2 separate regions of the Homo sapiens genome follow, and region 1 is linked to region 2. Evidence: promoter capture Hi-C in human tissues and cell types (Jung and others, 2019). All regions are on one chromosome and are shown on one strand. The core of a region is centred on a gene start or on the middle of the fragment in contact, and the rest is flanking DNA. Distances in the headings are between cores, read along the strand shown. Region 1 holds the start of RFX5 (regulatory factor X5). Region 2 holds the start of TMOD4 (tropomodulin 4).

Evidence for each region. Contacts are between HindIII fragments. The study calls those that stand out against the background at their distance.
Region 1: a contact is called between the fragment with the promoter of RFX5 here and the fragment with the promoter of TMOD4 in region 2, in 1 of the 25 tissues and cell types used here (adrenal gland).

Annotation. Positions count from the first base shown.
Region 1 is chr1:151,346,002-151,350,613 of GRCh38, forward strand. RFX5 (regulatory factor X5) reads right to left here and starts at 1,251. Exons shown (of 11, transcript NM_001025603.2): 1 at 1,210-1,251; 2 at 488-605; 3 at 204-332. The coding sequence starts at 319. It overlaps RFX5-AS1 (RFX5 antisense RNA 1), which reads left to right and starts at 1,009. Exons shown (of 2, transcript NR_131972.1): 1 at 1,009-1,187; 2 at 1,631-1,890. RefSeq lists enhancers at 84-173, 513-1,712, 767-1,349, 1,316-1,665. The HindIII fragment of the contact is 16,924 bases long and covers 1-4,612 here.
Region 2 is chr1:151,173,215-151,177,784 of GRCh38, forward strand. TMOD4 (tropomodulin 4) reads right to left here and starts at 2,767. Exons shown (of 10, transcript NM_013353.3): 1 at 2,710-2,767; 2 at 1,539-1,703; 3 at 1,177-1,333; 4 at 285-401. The coding sequence starts at 1,661. VPS72 (vacuolar protein sorting 72 homolog) reads right to left here. Exons shown (of 6, transcript NM_005997.3): 6 at 3,090-3,817. The coding sequence ends at 3,430. The HindIII fragment of the contact is 10,118 bases long and covers 1-4,570 here.

The sequences.
Region 1 (4,612 bases), core at 1-2,500, 170 kb after region 2:
TTTCCCTGTCTCTTTATCTGACTGCTAGGGAGGGAAAAGGACTGAAATGCCCAGCAGGTGCTCAAGAATTGCTACCATGGCCAAAAATCTCCCTCTGCTCCCATGCCCTTGCTGAGAGGCAGTTCATCTACAGCCAAAGTGAAGTGCTGCAGGGATCTATACTCAGGTCTTGGACAGGACTTGGAGATGTGATGAGTACTTACGAAATGGTACCTCGGAGCCTCTGAAGAAGGGTGGTAGGTTCCCCAGCCTCAGCACCACCTGGGGGGGCCCTTCCCCCAGTCTTGGGGCTCTTAGCATCAGGCTCATCTTCTGCCATCCCGGCATGAGGGCTAGAATTGAGAGGGACAGGCATAAAGATGTAACTCACACTGGCCTTCCCTTCCCCAGAAGGCCCCAGGGCACTCCTCATCTCTTTACCCAGAAAGGCAGAGAAACAGAAACAAAGCCTCCGAATTTCCCCGGTGGTCTTTTTCTCACCACTTGCCTTCTCCGAAAATTAGAAATTATTCCATTACTTCGCCAGGCCCATATATGCCCAAAGAGATCTTTGCCATCTCCATTCTATCTGCCCCACCTTTCTGAAGTCTCCTAAATCTGGAAAACTGTAAAGGAAGAGATAGGGGGATTGGGAATCCATGTTAGCAAGAAATTTTCATTTCTGCCTCTGACCCCATACTGCCCTCCTCCCCCTCAAAAACAACAATAACAGCCACAAAACAAAGTTCTCTAATTCTCAAAAATACTCCTCACCATTGCATATGCCTGGGAGGTCAGAAAGGATACGAACATATTCTGCCCTTCTAGGCTTGGAAAAAAAACTGGGCCCAAGTTCTCATTACTTAATCTCGCCACGACTTCCCCCGCTGCTCCCCCTCCCCACGTCGCCGGCCCCTACGTCATCTCCCACAACAGCCCATCCTGAGGCGCGCCCCCACCTCCTTCCCTTCCCCCTCCATTCAATCCCCGGTTTCTGCAAAGTGGAGCGGGGGTGGGGCGGGGTAGCGGAACTCATGCGCTGGGCGTCAGAAACCCGGCAGGGGAATGGGGTCCCAGATTCCGGGCACGTGCACATGGGTGAAGAAGCTGTTGAAAATACAGCTACAATCTTTTTCTGCTCTCCTCCCAACTCATCTTGCCCCTCCCTACCTCTGAACAGTCGCCTTCCAACACAAGCAACAATAAAGGTAAGGGAGAAAGAGAAACTACCTCGTAGCCACCTTCACTCCAGCCCAGCCCCAAGGTCCTGGCCCAGCCGGCTCGTGCGTTGCTTTATTTTCCTTTTTCTGAATGGTTGTAACAGCCGCGATCTGCCTAGATACACGGGCGGCCTGCTCTGTCATTGGTCACTGCTGCCACCCGGAGACAGAAGGCGCCGGGCTCGTACCGGCGGCCGCTGAAGTCTGCCTGGTAACAGAATCTGATTGGTCAATAGGGGAGGGAAAATCCAAAGTTGGTCTTATTTGAGTCAAGAGGGGGAAGTCCGGGTTGGGTTTCGGTTAAAACTGGGGTCGGTTGGGACTGCAGGTCCCAAGAGGTTCTTCTCTTAAAGGGACCGCAGGATGAAAGAACGGGCGCTCGGCTCCCTTTGGAACTGTCTTTTCTTTTGCCCTCCCCTTTTGTGTTTCAGTTTAGTCTACGGTCCTCAGAGCTGCCGGAAGAGAAGAATCAATGGATGATAAAATAACTAGACAATGATGGGTAGGAGTGATGGAAGTTCACTGTAAGCTCCTATAACCCCCCATCACCATCACCACATGCCTAATACAACCTGCAGACACACTTACTCGCAACAGACCTGCAATCTGGGCTCTCTTTTCCTTCTTGATGGAGGCCTCAAAACCTCAGCAGTTGTACCCATTAAACTAAAATGCTTTTTCCCTCTTAGTATTTCTTGGTTTCCCGTGTGTACTTTACTTCCAAAGAGTTGCAAATGCATTTGCATCCCCATAGTTCTGCAGTCGGTGAACCCTGGAATTTTGATGGACTCCCACGGGGGTGCTGGATGCCACAGGAACTTTTTACACTCAGGGAACATTGTACTGAATAGGTCATGGGTTCTTAACCCTCTTACTTAAGACATTTTAAGGTTATGAATCAGACAAAAGCAATGGACCCTCTACCATGAAAAATGCACACAGAGACCAAGTTTTGCATCTAATTTCAGAGAGGTCATGGACTCCAGGTTGAAAGCCTCTTACATGGATGTATTTTGTTTTGCGCAGCGGTCATGTTACAACCAAAACTGTATTTGCCATCCTGACATCTAATATGTTCTCCAGGCTCATCATTAATGTGCTTTTGTAAAGAAGACAGTAGTGCTGCCTGAGCTCATCACCATTGCCCTTTACAGCCTACCTTTCCCTATTATCAGCTTCTATGAGTGCTGGGGGAACCCAGGAGATTGTGGAGTTGGGGCAATAAGGATATATTGGCAAGAGGTTTTCTTTTTTCTTTCTTTCTTTCTTTTTTTTTTTTCTTTGAGACGGAGTCTCGCTCTGTTGCCCAGGCTGGAGTGCAATGGCACGATCTTGGCTCACTGCAACCTCCGCCTCCTGGGTTCAAGCGATTCTCCTGCCTCACCCTCCCGAGTAACTGGGTTTACAGACGTGCATCACCACGCCCAGATAATTTTTGTGTTTTTAGTAGAGACGGAGTTTCACCATGTTGGTCAGGCTGGTCTCAAACTCCTGACTTCAGGTGATCCACCTGCCTTGGCCTCCCAAAGTGCTGGGATTACAGGTGTGAGCCACTGCACCTGGCCAGGTTTTCTAATAACAGCTAAAATTTATTTGGTGTTTATTAGGCCAGGCGCGGTGGCTCACGCCTGTAATCCCAAAACTTTGGGAGGCTGAGGTGGGCGGATCACCTAAGGTTGGGAGTTCGAGACCAGCTTGACCAACATGAAGAAACCCCGTCTCTACTAAAAATACAAGATTAGCCGGGCGTGGTGGCGCATGCCTGTAATCCCAGCTACTCGGGAGGCTGAGGCAGGAGAATCACTTGAACTGGGGAGGCGGAGGATTGTGCCATTACACTACAGCCTGGCAACAAGAGCGAAACTCCGTCTCAAACAAAAACAAACAAAAATTTATTTGGTGTTTATTAGGTATCAGACACCATACCAAATGCTAAACACCTCGTGTAATGCTCACAGCAACTCTCTGAAGTAGGTACTGTTACTGTCTCCATTTTACAGATGAGGAAACCAATGTGGAGAGGTGAAGGGACTTGTCCTTAGTCATATATGTAGAAAGTGCTAGAATCAGGATCCAAAGGCAGGCAGTCTGCCTCAAAGCTGATTGTTTTGAGCACTGCCTTAGACTGCATGTATACATATTTGCAGATACTCATAAATAAATATGGGTATAACGGGCTGGACATGATGGCTCATGCCTATAATCTCAATACTTTGGGAGGCAAAGGCAAGAGGATTGCTTGGGGCCAGGAGTTTGAGACCAGCCTGGGCAACAAAGTGAGACTCTGTCTCTCTCTAAACACACACACACACACACACACACACACACACACACACACACACACACACCACACACAGCCAGGTGTGGTGGTACATGCCTGTGGTTCCAGCAACTTGGGAGGCTGAAGCAGGAGGATCACTATTACCCATGAGTTCGAGGCTGCAGTGAGCTATGATTGCACCACTCTGTCGTGCAGCCTGGGTGACAGAGTAAGACCCTGTCTCAAAACAAACAAACAAACAAAAAACAAAAAAAAAGCCGGCTGGTGTGGTGGCTCATGCCTATAATCCCAGCACTTTGGGAGGCTGAGGTGGGCAGATCACCTGAGGTCAGTTTGAGACCAGCCTGACCAACATGGAGAAACCCCGTCTCTACTAAAAACAAAAAACAAAAAACAAAACAAAAAACAAAACAAAATTAGCCAGTCGTGGTGGTGCATGCCTGTAATCCCAGCTACTTGGCAGGCTGAGGCAGGAGAATTGCTTGAACCTGGGAGGCGGAGGTTGGGTGAGCCGAGATCATGCCATTGCACTCCAGCCTGGGCAACAAGAGCGAAACTCCATCTCTAAATAAATAAATAAATAAATAGCAAGCCAAATATGGATATAGACTGATGGAAAGATAGCCCTAACACCACTGTTTGGTATGAAGGAGAACCTAGAGCACTTTGGTTGCAAACAGAGTTTTGGGTAAGTTATCTAGCTTAAAAATTTGCAGATAACAGGGAAAAACTGGAAGCTTTAGTAAGGGGGGAGAAAGTATCATAGTACATAGTACCTAGTAAAAGAGATGATTTTGACAGCACTATAGAAGGTAGAGTTGAGTGAAAGAAAAGGCTAGAGATAGGAAAGAGGAAACTATTAATTTATGCCAGGCATTGTGTTAAGAGCTAGGGATACAAAGCTGAATAAGGTATGGTCCTTGCCTTGGGCAGTAACAATAAAAATTGTCCGGATAAGCATCATATAACAGCAAGTATTTATACAGAGCCTAATATGTGTTGGGGCCCGTTCTTTTTTTTTTCGAGACGGATTCTTGCTCTGTCACCCAGGCTGGAGAGCAGTGGCGCAATCTCGGCTCACTGCAAGCTCTGCCTCCCAGGTTCAAGTGATTCTCCTGCCTCAGCCTCACAA
Region 2 (4,570 bases), core at 1,517-4,016:
CACTCAGGCCTCCCAAGTGCTGAGGTTACAGGTGTGAGTCATGGTGCCTGGCCCAATGATTCCACTTTTATTTGCTCTTACAATCCCTGTAAAATTGCTCTTGAGGTGTTATTAAATTTAAAAATGAATAAATATATAAACAAACAAGAAAAGCTTGAAACTACTGCTTGACGCTTTCTTAGACATCCACATTCTGGTTGAGGGCCTTCCTCACTAGTCCCATGTCATGGCTAGAATCCACCTGCCCCTGATCCTCTCACCCTCAACTTCCCACAGCTACCCACCTGCAATGTCACACATTTCAGCATCTGTGGCATGTGCCAGTGCCTCCTCCAGCTCAGGCTCCAGGGTGATCTGCTCCTCTGCTGGGATTTCCCTCTTGGGCTGAATATAGGGTTTCCCTGATGGGGAGATGAAGGATGGCTCAGGTAGAGGTAATTTCTCCCAAGATCCTGGCCTCCAGGTTTCCTTCCTCCTCCAGGAGGTAGAATGCTGCGTCACGAAGGGACACTGGAAAGCCTGAGTCCTCTACAAACTCAAGAGTCCTTAGCCCCCTGATCTCTCAAGAACTGAAGAGTGCGGGGCTGGGCGCTGTGGCTCACGCCTGTAATCCCAGCACTTGGGGAGGCCGAGGCGGGTGGATCATGAGGTCAGGAGATCGAGACCATCCTGGCTAACATGGTGAAACCCCATCTCTACTAAAAATACAAAAAATTAGCGGCCGGGCACGGTGGCTCATGCCTGTAATCCCAGCACTTTGGGAGGCTAAGGCGGGCAGATCACGAGGTCAGGAGATCGAGACCATCCTGGCTAACACAGTGAAACCCCATCTCTACTAAAAATACTAAAAAATTAGCCGGGCGTGGTGGTGGGCGCCTGTAGTCCCAGCTACTCGGGGGGCTGAGGCAGGAGAATGGCGTGAACCCGGGAGGTGGAGCTTGCAGTGAGCCGAGACTGCACCACTGCACTCCAGCCTGGGCAACAGAGTGAGACTCCGTCTCAAACAAAAAGAAAAAAAAAAGAACTGAAGAGTGCAAGCTCGCATTTAAGTGTCAGGGCATCTGAGTCCCTAGGCAACTAGGAGCTGGAAGGTGAGAGGGAAACTGGAGTGGGGACGAGTGAGAGACAGCACAGCCACTTGGGTTCTACGAGGCATGGATGTCAGGGTCCCCATACCCTTCTTCTCGCCTGTGAAGGGCACCAAGTCATCACGCTCTTTGACTTCTAGTGCCTGTTGCTCCAAGTACTGCAAAAGGGCCTCTCGGTCCAGTGGCCCCGTTGGGCTCTTCTTTGTCTGGTCACGTTGTCTTAGTCCAGCTGGCAGGAGCATGTTCTTAGGGATGAGTTTTGGGGAGCAAGTCAGACCTCCCCTCTGACCTAGGTACTGCTAGGGCTCCCTAAAACATCACCGGACACCTTTCCCCTGGCCTTCTTAGGACCCTAGGTCCTGTAGCAAACCCTATTCTCAGCCACCCAGAGCCCAACACCCTTCCCAAATGCCTGGGACTGCCTCTGGTTCCCTGTGCTGGAGCCCCTACCTCAGGATCCATCTCCTGTAGTTCGCAGTCCAGCTGCTCTAGCTCCTCGGGGCTCAAGGTCCTTAGGATCTCATCTTCATCTATGTCTCTGTATTTCTCCAGTTCCTTCTGATATGATGACATGGTGGCCCCCACCCCCTCCCCACTGTGTGGTACTCACAGAGCCTGGGCAACATGGGACAAAAGGATGGACAATGGTAAGATGGACAGGGACACAGCAGGGACACAAAGAGACCAGCCAGGGGGGCAGAACATTGGATTGGATTTCTTGGAGATTAGAAGTCTAGTTGAGGATGGGAAGTGGGGAAGATTAGGTTGTTTAGAGTTAGAACTAGAGTCTCCTTTCTGCTTCCCCAGCTTCCAGCCACTCTGGATGGGGATCCCAGACATCTAAGCTGGGTTTGTCTTCCCACGGTATGACAGAGAAATCCTGGCAGCACCCCTCCCCTATAACCTCACTTGTCAGTGCCTTCGCCCTAACACAGCTGCTGGAAGCCCTGCCAACACAGCTGGTCCTATGCCCAGTTCCTATTGAAAGGGGATGAGGGGTGGGGGAATAGAGAGCTTCAGGGAAATTCCTCCTCTCCTCCTCATAATCCAGGCTTTTTCCTAAACCGGATAAAAAAACCAAGGACAATGAGGTGTAAGGGGAAGAGAGAGTCTCTTACCCCATCCTCATTTCCCTTTTATTGTGGGGGATCAAGATTTCACTTTCTGTGTTTGCTAAAATTTGAAGTCTTAAGGGAAAGCAAGGGCTCGGAGCAGTTGGGGGACTTCCAGGTTGGGGGAAGGGTAGTAAGGCCTCTGTGAGTCCCCATAATCTGTCCCTTGCTTTGGACAGGAAGGTGACACCAGACCAATGGGTGTAAATAGGGTAAAGTTTCTTTAAAAACAGTGGGAATATTAAACTCGCACAATTTTGTACAATATAAGATACGCATAAGGAGCTATGCATACACACCATGCTGAATATGAAAGATCCAGAAAGTATGTGAGACACATCGACAATGTAAACTATACACAGTTAAGGGGTAGGACGGCACAGTGGCAGAAATATACACTGAGTGACAGAGACAGGGACACACTCCACATCATTCCCCATAGGAGCCACTCTTCTCCTCCCATCTCCCACCGGGCTCTCATCCATAAGCCCCCTGTCTTCCCCACCTACCAGTCCTGGTGGTCACCTCCCTTCTCACCTCCCCTGTGTCAGTAGGTCTGTCTGTTCTACTAGAGCACTGTCCCAGCAGCAGGAGGAGCCCGGTGCCGGGGGAGAGGGTGGGGGAACAGTGAGCTCAGCATTTTATTATTTTAGCTCTGGCCAGGTGGGGGGTAGTGGGAGATCACATATACACAGCCCCCATACCCTGCCCAGCCCTGAGAGCCTCTAGTGGTCATTAACAGCCATGGCATCTCTTCCACTTCCCTTCATACAAGCCCCAGTCTGAGACATATGAGTTCGACTAGAATCAGCCAGTTCCTCCTTATTTGGTGCCTGCTGTATTCAAAACAGTGAGTGTAAAGTGATAGGAAGGTCAATACAAGGATGTGTTTTGGTGTGCAATTTTCAGATGTTTATAATTTAGTTGGAGGAATGAATACAATTTAGAAAGGACAGCTCATAATAAATGCTATCGAATAAAGACCCAAATATATGCAGGTATTCAAATACTTCTTGCTCCCAACCCTAGACTGGACACCAGACAAAAGGGATCTTTCTATTTTATTAGATTAAAAAACACAACGAAACCTGTAAGAACTAGGGGAAAAGGAAAAAGAAACAGATTAGGCAAAGATCAGAGATGACAAAGGGGAGAAGCAGGGAGAAGAAACGGAACAGCAAGAGCCCCAATCAGGGCAGGAAAGAAGTTTCTGAGGACTAGACATCTCTTCATTTAATGACAATTTTCTGGCGCAAGGCTCGGGGCCCAGAGCCAGGGAGGGGCTCAGGAGGTGGCGGGCCGGGGCCCAGGGCTGAGGCAGTGGGCGGCAGTCCATGGGCAGTAATGTACTTCTTGTAAGCCTCACGAATGATCTTGAAGGCTCGAGCAGTGGCATAGGGTATGTCTGTAACAGGGTCCCGGTATAGGGCTGGACGATGGGTCACTGGACAGACCTCACGAACAGGGACTTTTGGGGGCCGCCCTTGGGGGAACCATTCCTCGAAAGTTGCATCATCACTAAAAGTGATGAAGGTACGTGAGCAGCGAGCAGGGGGGTTGACGGGTCCAGTCCCAGCATGAGGAGTCAATGCAGACACCGAGGGAGCAGGATCAAGTCTGAGGACAAAAGACAAGGAAAAACACAAAGAGCTGAGGAGAGAAGACAACAGATACAGAAAGAAGGAAATCAGGCTGGGTGCAGTGGCTCACACCTGTAATTCCAGCACTTTGGGAGGCTGAGGCAGGCAGATGACGAGGTCAGGAGTTCGAGACCAGCCTGACTAACAAGGTGAAACCCTGTCTCTACTAAAAATACAAAAATTAGCCGGGCGTGGTGGCGGATGCCTGTAATCACAGCTACTCAGGAGGTTGAGGCAGGAGAATCACTTGAAGCCAGGAGGCGGAGGTTGCATGGAACCAAGATCGTGCCATTACACTCCAGCCTGGGTGACAGAGCAGCGAGACTCCATCTCAAAAAAAAAAAAAAAAGAAAAGAAAGAAAGAAGGAAATCAGAGAGATGAGGAAAGAGAAAAAGGAGGCAGGGTGTTGGGAACATTCTGAGGAACGTACTAAGTGACTGATGGGAAAAGAAAGCTAGGCTAGAAGGAAAAACAGGAAAGAGAAGAACAGAGAAGCTAAAAGAAAAAGGAATAAGAAAGAAATAAGCTGGGCTGGGCGCGGTGGCTCACACCTGTAATCCCAGTATTTTAGGAAGATGAAGCGGGACGATTACTTTAACCCAGGAGTCTGGGCAACACAGCGAAACCGTCTCTACAAAAAATACAAAAATTAGCATGTGTGGCTGTACTCCCAGCTACTTGGGAGGCTAAGGTGGGAGGATCGCCTGAGCACAGGAGGTGGAGGTTGCA